Regions from separate parts of the Homo sapiens genome. Here all the other regions are linked to region 3. The links are contacts of gene promoters, found by promoter capture Hi-C in human tissues and cell types (Jung and others, 2019). All regions are on one chromosome and are shown on one strand. Each heading gives the region's core, a stretch centred on a gene start or on the middle of the fragment in contact. The rest is flanking DNA. Distances are from core to core; before and after follow the strand shown. Region 1 has its middle 65 kb from the start of RAP1B. Region 2 has its middle 8.0 kb from the start of IFNG. Region 3 holds the start of MDM1 (Mdm1 nuclear protein).

What was found. The method cuts DNA at HindIII sites, captures the fragments that hold promoters and counts their contacts. A contact is called where the count stands out against the background at its distance.
Region 1: a fragment that was not itself captured here is called in contact with the fragment with the promoter of MDM1 in region 3 in 5 of the 25 tissues and cell types used here (H1 embryonic stem cells, adrenal gland, mesenchymal stem cells and 2 more).
Region 2: a contact is called between a fragment that was not itself captured here and the fragment with the promoter of MDM1 in region 3, in 1 of the 25 tissues and cell types used here (neural progenitor cells).

Annotation. Positions count from the first base shown.
Region 1 is chr12:68,543,853-68,548,888 of GRCh38, forward strand. No RefSeq gene overlaps it. Among named protein-coding and RNA genes, the nearest start is that of RAP1B, 65 kb to the right of the region's middle. The HindIII fragment of the contact is 5,997 bases long and covers 691-5,036 here.
Region 2 is chr12:68,149,467-68,154,102 of GRCh38, forward strand. No RefSeq gene overlaps it. Among named protein-coding and RNA genes, the nearest start is that of IFNG, 8.0 kb to the right of the region's middle. The HindIII fragment of the contact is 7,218 bases long and covers 1-4,636 here.
Region 3 is chr12:68,329,200-68,334,230 of GRCh38, forward strand. It overlaps MDM1 (Mdm1 nuclear protein), which reads right to left and starts at 3,163. Exons shown (of 15, transcript NM_001354969.2): 1 at 3,029-3,163; 2 at 1,908-2,022. The coding sequence starts at 3,046. LOC105369819 (a long non-coding RNA gene) reads left to right here and starts at 3,432. Exons shown (of 3, transcript XR_945057.3): 1 at 3,432-5,031. RefSeq lists an enhancer at 2,714-2,803 and a silencer at 3,104-3,363. The HindIII fragment of the contact is 12,003 bases long and covers 116-5,031 here.

The sequences.
Region 1 (5,036 bases), core at 2,439-4,938, 220 kb after region 3:
TCCCGTGTCAACCAGGAGTCTTGTTCCCCAGTGTAGAGCTTTTATGCCATAGTTGGTCCAACATTCTGTGGACCACTAAAGAGCAAGGATGGACTACCCAAACAGTTTTTATAATTTCCTAAAATCATACATTCATTTTACTAGAGGATCATAGAAGTTAAAGACTTAAAACAAACTTTGGCAATTAAGACAGGATACCAAGATGCAAATGCCTGCTTGGAATGGATCAAATATTCCATCTGCACATTAAACAAAAGGAATTGTTATGCTTGTGCACATGGTAGGCCAGAGGCCCACATTGTCCCCTTTCCACTAAGGTGGTCCTCCAGTTGACCAGGTGTGGGCTGCATGGTAGCTCTTTTCCAGGATTCTACAGCCTGGAGTAATAAGTCGTGCCAAGCTCTCTCTACTATATCCCAAAGTACGGCACCCTGCAGGTCAGCCCAGGAGGACCATCCAGACTCTGTCTCCCAACACTAAGTTCACTTCCTGTCTCTCATGACAGGGAGGAAACGTAGCGTTCCTTGGAGACCTGAAGGGATGCAGTAAGCTTAAGAATTTTCAAGAGCTTATCAATCAGTCAGCCCTTGTTCATCCCTGAGCAGATGTATGGTGGTATTGCGGTGGACCTTTACTGGGCACTCTGCTGAATAACTGGAGTGGCAATTGTACTTTAGTCCAATTGGCTATCACTTTCACCCTGGCATTTCATCAACCAGAGGGAGGAAAAATAAGACATCGTAAAGCAAGAGAAGACCTTTATGGGTCTTTCAACTCTCACGTCTATTTAGACATGAGAGTCCCTCGGGGAATACCAGATCAATTTAAAGCTTGAAATCAAATAGCTGCAGGATTTGAGTCAATATTTTGGTGGGTGACAGTTAATGAAAATGTAGATTGGATAAACTACATCTATTACAACCAACAGTGACAAGCTTTTCATGAGTTAAAAGAAAAACTCATGTCAGCCCCAGCCCTGGGGCTACCTGACCTGACAAAACTCTTTACACTCTATGTGTCAGAAAGAGAAAAAATGGCAATTGGAGTTTTAACCCAGACTGTAGGGCCCTGGCCAAGGCCAGTGGCCTATCTCTCAAAACAACTAGACGGGGTTTCCAAAGGCTGGCCCCCATGTCTAAGGGCCCTGGCAGCAATGGCCCTGTTAGCACAAGGAGCAGATAAACTAACCCTTGGGCAAAACCTGAATATAAAGGCCCCCCCATGCTGTGGTAACTTTGATGAATACCAAAGGGCATCATAGGCTAACAAATGCTAGATTAACCAAGTACCAAAGCTTGCTATGTAAAAATCCCCACATAACCATTGAAGTTTGCAACAACCTAAACCCCACCACCTTGCTCCCAGTATCAGAGAGCCCAGTTGAACGTAAGTGTGTAAAGGTATTGGACTCAGTTTATTCTAGTGGGCCCAAACTCTGAGACCATCCTTGAACATCAGTAGGCTGTGAGCTGTACGTGGATGGGAGCAGCTTCACCAACCCCTGCAAAGTGACTCTGAAGAAGATGAGAAGCCCTACTCCAGTCACACCTGGAAGCTGACTGGTCCACATGTGCCCGAAGCATGAGAAAACTCATTGTGGGACTCATTTTCCTTAAAATTTGGACTCGTACAGTAAGGACTTCAACTGACCTTCCTCAGACTGATTACTATTCCCAGTGTATACATCAAGTCACTGAGGTAGGACAAAAAGTTGCTACAGTCCTATTATTTTATGGTTATCATAAGTGTACTGGGACTCTAAAAAGAACTTGTTTGTATAATGCTATTCTATACAAGGTATGTAGCCCCCAAGCTGATGTGTGTTATGACCCATCTGAGCCTCCCATGACCATAGTTTTTAAAATAAGATTAAGGACTGAGGACTAGTGAGGGCTCATAAATGATATGAGTAAAGTGTTAGCCAAAACAGAAGAAAAAGGAGTGCCCAAACAAGTCACCTTGAAATTTGATGCCTGTGCTGTCATTAATAGTAATAAGTTAGGAATAGGATGTGGTTCTCTTAATTAGGAAAGAGGCTATATGACAGAAAATAAGTACATTTGTCATGAATTAAGACTGTGTGGAAATGAATGTGGATACTGGTCTTGTGTCATTTAGGCTACTTGGATAAAAAAATGAAAGGAATCCTGTCCATCTTCAGAAAGGGAAAAGTGACCCTTCGTGTACCAGTGGTCTGTGTAACCCCTTAGAACTAGTAATAACCAACTCCCTTGATCCTCGCTGGAAATAAGGGGAGCATGTAACCCTAGGAATCGATGGGGCTGGACTGGATCCTCAAGTAAATATCGTGGTTTGAGGAGAAGTTTATAAACGCTCTCCTGAGCCAGTATTTCAAACCTTCTATGATGAACTAAATGTGCCAGTACCAGAAATTCCAGGAAAAACAAGAAATTTGTTTTTGCAATTAACCAAGCATGTAGCCCAGTCTCTCAATGTCACTTCATGTTATGTATGTGGAGGAACTGTAATGGGAGATCAATGGCCATGGGAAGCCTGAGAATTAGTACCTACAGACCCAGTTCCTGATGAATTCCCAGCTCAAAAGAATCACCCTGATAACTTCTGGGTCCTAAAAGCCTCAGTCATTAGACAATACTGTATAGCAAGAGTGGGGAAGGACTTCACCCTTCCTGTGGGAAGACTCAGCTGCCTTGGGCAAAAACTGTATAATAGTACTACAAAAACAGCCACCTAGTGGAGTTCAAACCACACTAAGAAAAATCCATTTAGTAAATTCCCAAAGTTGCAAACCGTGTGGACCCACCTGGAGTCCCACTGGGACTGGACAGCCCCCACTTGATTATACTGAATATGTGGGCATAGAGCTTACACCAAATTACCCGACCAGTGGGCAGGTAGTTGTGTTATTGGCACTATTAAACTATCTTTCTTCCTACTGCCCATAAAGACAGGTGAACTCCTGGGCTTCCCTGTCTATGCTTTCTGCAAAAAGAGAAGCATAGCTATAGAAAATTAAAAAGAAGATGAACAGCCCCCTGAGAGAATCATACAATATTATGTGCCTGGCACTTGGGCACAAGATGACTCATGGGGATACCAGACCCCCATTTACATGCTCAACCAAATCATATGGTTACAAGCTGTCTTAAAAATAGTCACTAATAAGACTGGCAGAGCCTTGACTATTCTGGCCCAGCAAGAAACTCATATGAGAAATGCTATCTATGAAAATAGATTGGCTCTCGACTACTTGCTAGCAGCTGAAGGAGGGATCTGTAGGAAATTTAACCTTACTAATTGCTGTCTACACGTAGATGATCAAGGGCAAGTAGTTGAAGACATAGTTAGAAATATGACAAAACTAGCACATGTGCCCGTGCAAGTGTGGCATGGATTTGATCCTGGGGCCATGTTTAGAAAATGGTTCCCAGCACTAAGAAGATTTAAAACTCTTCAAATAGGAGTTGTAATAGTAATAGAAACCTGCTTACTGCTCCCTTGTTTGCTACCTCTACTTCTTCAAATGATAAAAAGCTTCATCGCTACCTTAGTTCATCAAAATGCTTCAGCACAAGTGTACTATATGAATCACTATTGATCTGTCTTGCAAGAAGACATGGGTAGTTAGAATGAAAGTGAGAACTCCCACTAATGAGTGAAGTTCTCAAAAGGGGGAATAAAGGAGGAGACCACCCCTCATATTGTCTTATGACCAATTTCTGCCTCCAAAGAAAGAAGAAGTAAAAACTAAAAGGCAGAACTGATATCCAAAGGCAGACAGCCCAGCGCCACACCCTGGGCCTGGTAGTTAAAGATTGACCCCTGACCTAATCGGTTGTGTTATCTATAGATTACAGACATTGTATAGAAAAGCACTGTGAAAATCCCTGTCCTGTTCTGTTCTGTTCTGTTCTAATTACCGGTGCTTGCAGCCCCCAGTCACATACCCCCTGCTTGCTCAATCAATCACGACCCTCTCATGCAGACCCCCTTAGAGTTGTGAGTCCTTAAAAGGGACAGGAATTGCTTACTTGGGAAGCTCGGTTTTTGAGACATGAGTCTTGCTGATGCTCCTGGCCGAATAAAGCCCTTCCTTCTTTAACTCGGTGTCTGAGGGGTTTTGTCTGAGGCTCGTCCTGCTACACTAAGATTATAATAGAAGTGACTTGCCAAATCAATTTTCTACCTCTGTTTCACCACTGTATGGAAAAGCAGGTGACAAGACTGTGGCACAGAGGAAACAGGAATGCTGTTTTCTCACTGAGGCTGTTCAGAGCTTCAGTTGTCTGATTTCCTCAGCTGTGAATCTCTTTATGCACCCAGCCCCCTACCAGCTTCATAAAAATCAGGCTCCCAGGGAAGACCACAGCACAGTAGGATCCAATCTAAGAAGTGGATGTTCAAAAAATAAGGCAACATTTGCATGTGTAGAATATGTTTTTTGAGAAATATCATCATGAATTTCTTTTTAGGGCAGTGGGGCATTCAAACACTCAACTTGACAACCGACAATACCTTCAAAGAGAACATGCTGATTATAATAGTCAGATTTTCAGAAAACCTGAGGGCCAATTGCAATGCACTGAGTATTGTTTAAATGTGGATTGCATTCCACTAGATAGTTGTTAAATACCAACTCTATACAAGGTATCATGAGGATCACAGGCTGAGTAAAATAGTCCTTTCCCTTAAGACACACATCCTCACAGAATAGAGATGATGGTAGTAGTAAAATTAACCCTGACTAATATTTCCTGAGTGTTTACCATGTGTCAGATGCTTGATATGCATTATCTTCTATAATCTTTATGACAACCACAAGAAGTAAGGATTGTTTATTTCTTCATTTGCAGATAAAGAAACCAAAGCCAGAAGAAAGACAGTGGTGAAACCAAGATTCAAATTCCAAAAGTTGGACACCACCAAAGTTCCCACTCCTAAGCATTCTATTTATTACTATTATTATTATTATTATTATTATTATTATTATTATTATTATTTTGAGTACAGAGTCTGACCCTGTCACCCAGGCTGGCGTGTATTGGCACAATCAT
Region 2 (4,636 bases), core at 677-3,176, 180 kb before region 3:
TCGGCCTCCCACAGTGCTGGGATTACAGGTGTAAGCCACCACACCCAGCCCATGATGGTTTTTTTCATTGAGGCCTCAGTTGGAAAATTCAAATGCTTGGAGCTACAATCATCTAAGAGCTTGCTCACACACATCTGATGATTTGTGCTGATGCTGAGTGGAAGCCTTACTGGAACTCTTGGCCAGAATATGCACACATGGTTTCCCCATGCAGCCTGAACATCTCAACATGATGTTGGGTTCTGAGGGCAAAAGTCTTGAGATGGAGAGAAGCCAGGTAGAGACTGCACCCTAGACTTCAAAGGATGTGACTTCATTTCCATTTCACTTCACTGGTAAGCAAAGTCACAAGCCCCCGCCCAGTATTTAGGGGAGGACCATACCCTCATCTTTAAGTTGGGGGAGTGTCAGTCACATTACAAGAAGAGCATGGGGATGGGGTGAATATATATGTGTGATTACTTTTGGAAATTTCACCTGTTGCAAGTTAAATATGGGGAATTCTGAGTCATCAAGAATTTTAGACCTCACCAGTCTGTGACTCTGAAATAATCTCAGAGTGACTTTTTCGTATTTATATTTTGAAAAAATATTGCAGGCTGGGCGCCTTCAAATCCCAGCACTTTGGGAGGCCAAGGTGGGTGAATCACTGAAGTCCAGGAGTTCAAGACCAGCCTGGGCAAGATGGTGAAACCACATCTCTACAAAAAGTACAAAAATAAAAAATTAGCTGGGCATGGTGGCCCATGCCTGTGGTCCCAGCTACTCGGGAGGCTGAGGTGGGAGGATGGCTTGAGCCCAGGAGGCGGAGGTTGCAGTGAGCCGTGATTGCACGAACTGCACTCTAGCCTGGGTGACAGAGTCAAATCCTGTCTTAAAAGAAAGAACAAGATTGCAAACTTACAGAAGAGTTGGAAAAGCTTTATATTTCCTGAATCATCTCAGAGTAAGTGGCTATCCTGATGCCCCTTCACCTCTGAATACATTCATGTGCACTACCTACCCACAAAGACATGTCCTGCTTAACCATGATACAAACCTCAAAATCAGGAAGTTTAAATTGATATATTACTACTCTCTCATCTTCAGACCTCATTCAAGTTCACCAGTTGTTCTAAAAATGATTTCTACTGCACAAGGATTCAGTTTAGAAACTTGCATTGCATTTAGCCATCATGTCTCTATAATTCATTTCAGAACAAAACTGTTCTTCAGTCCTTAGTCTTTCCTTAACTTATACAACTTTGATACTTTGAAGACTACAGACAAGATATTTTGTAGAATGCTTCTTAGTTTGCATTTGTATGTTTTCTCATGACTAGAATAGGTTATGCATCTTTCACAGAGATATCACAAAAGGTGTGCTATGTTCGTTTTCTTGCAACCTATCAGGTAGGATACCCTTTTCATTTATCTCATTACTAAGGATGTTCACTTTTATTCCTTGATTAAGATGGTATCTGCTAAGCTTCTCTACCATAAAATTACTCCTTTCCAATTTGTAATTAATAAATATTTTGTAGGGAGATATTTTGCAATGATGTGGCTATACCATTCCTCATCAAACTTTTGGTGTATTCATTTATATCAATATATACTCATGGTTTCCTATTATATTCAATAGGTCATAATACATTACTATCACTATTTATTTTGATGCTCAAATTTTCTCATATTTCACTAGTGGGAGTCCCTTCAAGCTGGTTTCTGTTCCTTTTAACATGTTTCCATCATCCTCTGAATACTTCTTTTTTTTCTAGCACTTCATGTACTTTCACTACCCCTGTTCTGGGATCAGCCAATTCTCCAAGGAGTTCTGGTTCATTCTAGCAAAGAATGGTATTTAGAAGTCAAGATATGGGTGATCAGTGTTCTCATTGTTATCGAGATGTTACTACTCCCAGGCCCCCTCAATGGACAGAGTTAGGGTGAACTAATATTTCTATCTATTATTTATTTCTATATCTACCTCTATATATTGAAGAGCATAAGTTAATACTGATACATCTAATTCTATTTCAATATCATAGGGTTTATTCTAATTTTCTCCTTTTCTGTACTGTACCTTCCTTCAATAGTGAGGAAAACTGGCTCCCATTATCTTTAATATAATTACTTAATTAATTTCCCATCTGCACTAATATGTCTTCCCCTATGCAGATGCCATTCTTACTTCACTCTAACACTCATGCTGGGCCATCCCAGGACACAGATGTCCTCCTCACCTTGCCTGGACTCTGACACCCTACTCCAGGCCATTCTTCCACATGGGCACCTCCTTGCTAGGCTAAGGTTCAGAGGACCCATGTCAGGCTGCCGCACTGTGATAGACTGCATAATGGACCCCCAAAGATGTCCACATCCTAGTCCCCTGAATCTGGGACTGTTGCTTTATATGGCAAAAAAAAACAAACAAACAAAAAAAAAAAAAAAAACTTCTCAGTTAAAAATCTTAAGAAGGAGGAGACAGTATCCTGAATTATTCAAGAGGTCTTAATGTAATCACGAGGGTCCTTATAAGAGGAAATCGGGAGTATCAGAGTCAGAAAGAATGAGAGAGCCTGGAAGATACTCTTCTGCTGGCTTTTAAAAAGGAAGAGGCCACTAGCTGAGGAATGAGAGTGGCCTCTAGCAGTTGGAAAAGTCAAGGAAACAGATTGTCTCCTAAAGTCTCCAGAAGGAACAAGCCCTGCCGATGCCTTGATTTTAGCCCACTGAGCCTAGTTTTGGATTTCTGCCCTCCATGATGATAAGATAATAAACGTGGGTTTTTTTTTTCAGCAACTAAGTTTGTTGTCACTTATTACCAAAGCAATAGGAAACTAATATGCTCACCCACCTCTTCAAGGACCTTCTCCTCATTCTGCTCAGGTTCTGACACCTTCCACACCAGGTTTCCTCCCTACACACTGTGCCTGGAATTTGGCTGCCCATAGTGGGCAATTACAGATGTCTACCTTACTCTGATGCACTTAATTGATTTAGAATAATATTGTTCAAATGGGAAGGAGAGAAGAATGAAGAGAACAGGATAAGAAAGAACAGGAAAATCCATTGACATTTCATGCTCAAGTTTTAATCACCAAAAATTGCCCCACCAGCAAGCATATGCCAGCAATTTCTGAAAGTCACTAAGGGTGAAAGCTATACGATAAGGGCTCTCCCACTGCAAGCCCAGGCTGCTGTCCCAGCTGCTTATAAGATTTGGGAGATACCTGCCCCTGCTGGCATTGGGAGAGGAATCAGCCCCCAAGGTGTCTTAGTCTAAAGCATGGTCCATCCCTCCTACAAGCTCCATCACACTTCTGAAACTAGGTGTGTTCATAAGAGAAGAAACATACAACATAGAGAATAATTGACAACCACTGCATAGGCCAGTCTCAACTCAAGTTCTCTTAAAGGATCTTCTCCCTGTCTCATTCCCTGCTATAATCACAGCACCTAATACAGTTTATATCTCTTCATGTCTCACAGTCTGGCCAAACTGAGATCAACCTCAGAGAGAGGGAATGTTTTATCCAGCCCTAGATTAAAATTTATCTCCTGGGGCTTCATTACACATGGTATGATTAATCACTGCTCAAGATGATCGATGGTGGGAATTTCCAATCCCTTCCCCAGAAGTATGGTCTAGAACTGTGGTCCAGGCAAGACAGCTTCACAGTAGCCCTTCATCTGTTTATACATCAAAGTCTGCATCAATGAATCTTAATTCAAACAAGAGTGGAGACACCAGTAGCAGATCATATTAGCTGTAGTTGTGCCAAAATTAACCAAATTTACTTCCAATCTTGCTTCATCAAAGATTCAAAAGTTTTAGCATCAGATCTCACCCACTGTCACTTAGTTACCCAATAATCAAAATAATGACCCCTGATTATTGTCAATGACTCAAATGATCCTTTGTGTGATCTATTTCACATAATCCTACTGTTGCTGTTGGAGGTTTATGTGAAATTGTTGAGAAGGAAGCCCCAGATGTCTAACCCTCTCTATCCTTGACATTCATGATCTTGCCACCACTACACGTTCCACAGCTGGTAGAACTAATCTCACTATATCCATTATCTTGTTTATGTCGGTAATCATAAGAAGTCTCAGACTCACAACACATCCCTATGCACGTTCCCTTTTATGACAACCTCTCTTACTTTGTCTCACTGGGTCTTCTGGAATTTACAGCCCAGAACTAACCAAATCCATCATATCCTCAACTTCCTCCTTCTCAAAAGATAAACTGGCCCTCCCCTAAGGACATTGCTTCCCCTGAATTCCTCTCAAGTGTGGCTGATTTTCTCTTCCGTCTTCTGGGCCCAGCACACTGGTCTGCTGGTTCTTCTACCACTCCAGGAAAATCTCTTCAGAGCCTTTGCAAGGATATACCTTTTGCCTGGAATTCAAATAGCTACCTCTCTTACTTCTTAAAGCGCTTCCTCAAATGGCATCTCCTCAATAAGGCCACATATAATTACCCTTTTAAACCTCTAGCCCTCCCACTCCACCATACATAGGACTCCTAATTTCCCTGTCCTGCTCTCCTTTAACTATTTTTCCATGACACCAATCACCTTAGAGAATGCCATGCAATAGACTTACATATTATGTATTTTGTTCATTGTTTATCTGTCCCTTGCTT
Region 3 (5,031 bases), core at 1,913-4,412:
AGGGATTTTCCTAGCACCCTGCCGGAGAAGCAGGGACACCCAGTCTCTGAAGTTTGCCGCTGGGTCAGATCATGATGCTTCAGAGGAACTCTAAAAGAGACACTCACTCTTGCCCACTCTTCCCTTTGTTCTCTAGACCAAATTCTGAAAATACCTCGTCGTCTTACTAACTTTCCAGGCTTGGTACCCTACCCATAAGTCTTTTCCTGGCTTCAAACATCTAACATTTATGTGACTTACATGCCATGCTCGCACACATCACATGTGGGACACTAAGCACTGATCTGTGTACTCAAACCAGGCCCTTAATAGGCAACATCTCATTTAAACCCTCCCAGTAATCCTATGCAACAGACTTCCTAAAATCTCACTTGGTGAAACTAGCTCAATTTGCCCAACATCACACAGCTATTATAATTCAAATTTAGGCTAATTCATTCATTCAAAAAATAGTTTCAAGAAGCAATAGAATGTTCCAAGGCCTGTGTTAGGTACTGGGTGGTGAATAAGACAGAGCCCTACTCTCAGAGATCTAATATACTAGTAAGGAAGAATTAAATAAGCAGGTATAATGAGGTCAGTCTGTCTCCCTTCTGTTCTATCACCCTCCGGGAAACTCTGGCCCAGGACTCTGCCTTCCCTGGGACACAGGGAGGAGGCATGTGTGATAACAAGAACATGACCTCTGAAATTACATGCTTTGCACAAAACAGACTTGATTTCAAATCATGGTTCTGCCACTTACTAGCTGTAAAGCTGGGGCAGCGACCTCATCTCCCTAAGCTTCCATTTCTCAAGACCTTGGGAGCACTCTTCCCCAGCATTGTCCCCTCAGCTTTCAGGTCTCAGCTCAAATATCACCTCCTCAAAAAGAGCCTTTCCCAACCATCTAATCTAAAGCATTTTCCCTCCAATCCACTCCTCCCGCATGTTATGTATCACACTTCCCTACAATTTTATATAAAAACCTGAAATTCCCTTAATTATTGAGTGACTTGCTTACTGTTTCTCTCCACAGTTAAGGGACTTTGGTTCAGGGCTATATCCCTAGTGTTCCCAGACCAAACTGAGGGTCAGGCTGCTATTTCTCTCGGCCAATAACGAGATGCAGATAAACTAGGGAGAAAGAGAGTTTTTATTTCTATAACCAGTTACGGGAAGAAGGCCTGCAAATTATCACCAGACGAACCCCAAATTACAAAGTTTTTCAGAGCTTATATACCTTCTAAGCTATATGTCTACGTGTAAGTGTGCATTCATCTAAGGATATAAGTGATTAACTTCTTTTAATCTATAACTAAGGTCTGAGTCCTGAAGACCTTCTTCTGGAGCATCAGTAAATTTACTTAATCTAAATGGGTCTAGGTGCTGGGCTGATTACCCTTATCTTGTCTCCTGCTGAATCATGGAGGTTTGAGGAGTTCCTTCAGACCGCCAATAAATTTGTGGAGGCCTGGGGAGTTTCTTCAGACCCCCAGTAAAACTTGTTTAATCCTAAACGGATCCTGTTAAGAATTCCTTATTTTGTCATGCTTTATGGCCCAGGAAAGGCCTAGGCAATACTCTTGATGGGCTTTTGTGACATCCCAGCCTTTGTGTAAGGGCACTGGCTTTTTTTAGCTTTCAATATTTAACTTAACCGCTCAGTCAGTACCGAAACAGTTGTGATGGAGGCCTCCATTAGTGAAACCTGGCCTGCCACACTAGCTGCTGGGAATAGTCCTGGCTCATAGTAAACCTTCAATAAATACTTGATTAATAAATGAATAAATCAACCAGGCCAACTGAACTTTTAATATATCATTTGGTAAACTTAGCCCAAGGTTTACTTAGCCCAAGTTATAACGGCTTGGCCCAAGTTATAAACTTAGCCCAGGTTAGAATGGCTATTAGCCTGCTCAACTTACCTAATTGATCTGATCTAAGTCCAGCCCATGGGTACTTTCGCCCCACGGAGGAATTACAAGACTCGGACAAATAAGACTTTTTCCACAGGAAGTTCCTCTGGTATTCACTCAGCCCCTGTAATGCAAAGTACACTTTTGAGTACAGTCCAATTAATGAATGATGTTTTAAAGCAGACATCGGTGAAAAATAATTTCTGAACCTCCCAAAAGAGACTTAAGACTGAAAATTAAACACAGACGAGCTCCTTAATAAGAGCTAATATTCACCCAGCCCTGTGCTAAGCAGTTCACACGTGTTATATCCTTTAATCCACAACACCACTTGAGGCAGATGCTACCAGGAATTCCAGGCTCAGAGGTTACCCTTTCACTGATTATCTGATTCCAAAGCATGAGTTCTTGTCGGATAACTAATGACAATCTAAATTCTCATCATTCTAGATTTATCGCAGGTTTTCACCGAGTACACAATATTATGTACCATGCCTAGGACCTTTTGCTATTTGATAAAGTCAACAAAAGGCAAACTCCCCTTCCATTCTGAATACACGCCTTTAAGATAAATGAGTCAGGAGATGTGGGACGCTGTGGCCACCTGTGAAGTTGCAGGGTGCTAGTCCCTGACAGCTACCAGCTACCTGGAACTTTTAACATACGCTAAGAATGCACAACGATGAAAAACGTGTATTTCTTTATACGCTGTCTTTACTAAGAACCCATTTCTCAAGCCTTTAAAAGCCACATACACTAAAGTTTTAAAGGTAATGGGGGTTAAATGCTAAGCTAAATGGGCCACAGGTGTCCCAATCTGAAGTCGCCTTTAGTTCTCTTCGCAAAGGGACCTCCTCCCATCTCCACTCCTCTTGAGTCCCCCTAAGTAAATGTGTCTCGCACCATCTGACTCTTCGACACACTGCAGCTTGCAAATGTGAGTGAGCGGAGAGGGAACTAGGTTAAGAGGCGGCGGGCAGATTCTGGGGCCCCTCGAGCAGGCCCTGGGGCTGGCAGCTTCCGCCGGGCAGAGGGCTGCAGCGCAGAAAAGCAGCGTGACCTCGGCGCTCCACACCTCCCCGGCCATGGCTCCCCCCAGCCACATTCCGGCCCGGGGACCCCAGCCTCACCTTGAAGCGCACCGGCATGTCGCCCGGCGCCGGAGCCCCCGCTACTCCGACAGTTAACTGGAGAAAAAGCTCCGAGGGGGCGGGGCGATAACAGTGTTCCCTAGCAAAGCCTCGGCCCGGCGTCCCCGACTACGCGCCGGCGCACTCCGCGCTTCCCGCCTAGAGGCCTGTCGGTCTGTTTTTCCCCGCCCTTTTTGGAGCCTAGGGACCAATAGAGACTCGCAGAGTGCCTTACCTCCATTAGGATTTGACCAATGAGTGGCCGAAAGGGAGCCGCCTACCTCCCTTGCCAAATCCCTGGGGCTGATAGAGATGGCGGGCGGAAGGCCGGCCAATAAGGCTCCCGGAACCGGGCTGGGCGGGACCCCGGGGGTGCCTTCCTGGGTTGGGTGGACCGGTCCCTGGTTCGCCGGGTCCTGCGCAGCAATGCGTCTGCTTGCTGGTGGAATTCGCCAGCCGCCAGCCTCGCTGGCCCAGGTGCTTGACAGCATCAAAGGTCAAAGTGTGTTCTTCATGCTAACATCTATGAGAAAACCGAACGCTTCTTTTTCTGAAAGTGCTCAGATTTATTCTGCTGAATATCGGTTCGTACAAACGACAGCCGCATTACAGTTTATTGTCACATCAAAAGGGAAAGGCCAAAAAAATATATAACTTAGGCAAGATTTTTGAAACTTTATTGAAACTCGAAAGACAAACTGCTGTCTCTTCCTCCAGTGATGTTCTTCCTCCTTCAATCTCTACCTTCCCCAAAATGATGTACATACAGCCCTTAGATGAGAAAACGTTTATTGAAGATGGTTGTCTCAACTTCCAAACCTTCAGCCTTGTCTCTCCGCTCAACCTTTTTTTAAAAATAAAACTTCATCTGATTTTAATCGACTATTGCCATCATCGTCGATAAATGTTTCTTGACAGAATACTGCTGATTCTGAGAATTGGGAAAGAAAGAAATTGTCCAGATAGTTCTCTGATATACTTGGGAAGGACATACATCTTTATTTATTTATTTATTCATTATTTATTCAATAATGGTGTAATGTGACATGTGCTAAATTTCTAAATGAAAGGTGTCAATAATAAGGGCTACAGGATCTGGGAGCAGGGAGTCATTTCGGACGGCAGAAGATGCGTCAGGAGGAAATATTCAGACTGAAAGGACTGCAATAAGTAAAAAGTGGGACGATGAAAGGGCAGATGTCTGAATGGAATGCTGCCAGGCTTCTTCCAGGAACAACAAATGAGTGCCTTTTACATTTGTCATGTGTTGACTGAATAAAAGTATACCACTCTTAAACTTTCAAATATCAACACCAATCCTTGATGCTTCCCTTTAAGCATTTTCCGCAAAAGCTGTCTTCCTGAATCCTGATTGATGTCTTTGTTCTTCATCATCATCGAGATACTTAAAAATCATTTGAAGAAGCCACCTGATATCTGGAACAAAGAGCATATTAAATTAGTCCCAATGCAGCCATGCATCCAGGGGGCCCTTGATTAATGTTAATTGGTGATGACAGCATCTCTGTCGTGTAAATTAAGAATGGCACAAACAAGACACAGTGGAACATAGAACAAAAGTCATCTGCAGGAAGGCAGCCCATCTTACAGAGTAAGAAAGGCACAACTTTGGTTGTGCACACAGCTTTGTTACCACAAAATGCTAAGGTGAGATCAGCAAAAGCAAGTGTGTAGAATGTAGCCTGCCTGCTAAACAAGCGCAATGATCACTGCAGAAGAGCTCTGCTGAGCAGGGAGTAAATGACAGGAAAACCAAACAGCAGATTGTAAAAATAACTCAGTCACATCCCAGGCTTGCTAGAGAAGTATCATAAAGACTTAAGGAAGAAGATTTTACTTTGCTATTGTTAAACAAAAGCCTACCCAAGTTTAAGAGGCAAAGATATAGGAATGGGAAAAAAAAAAGTGACTACCTTAGTAAATGAGTTTTGTAGCCTGTGTTTTACCAGCTCTTATCTTCTCTGCTACTGCAGGAAACAGTA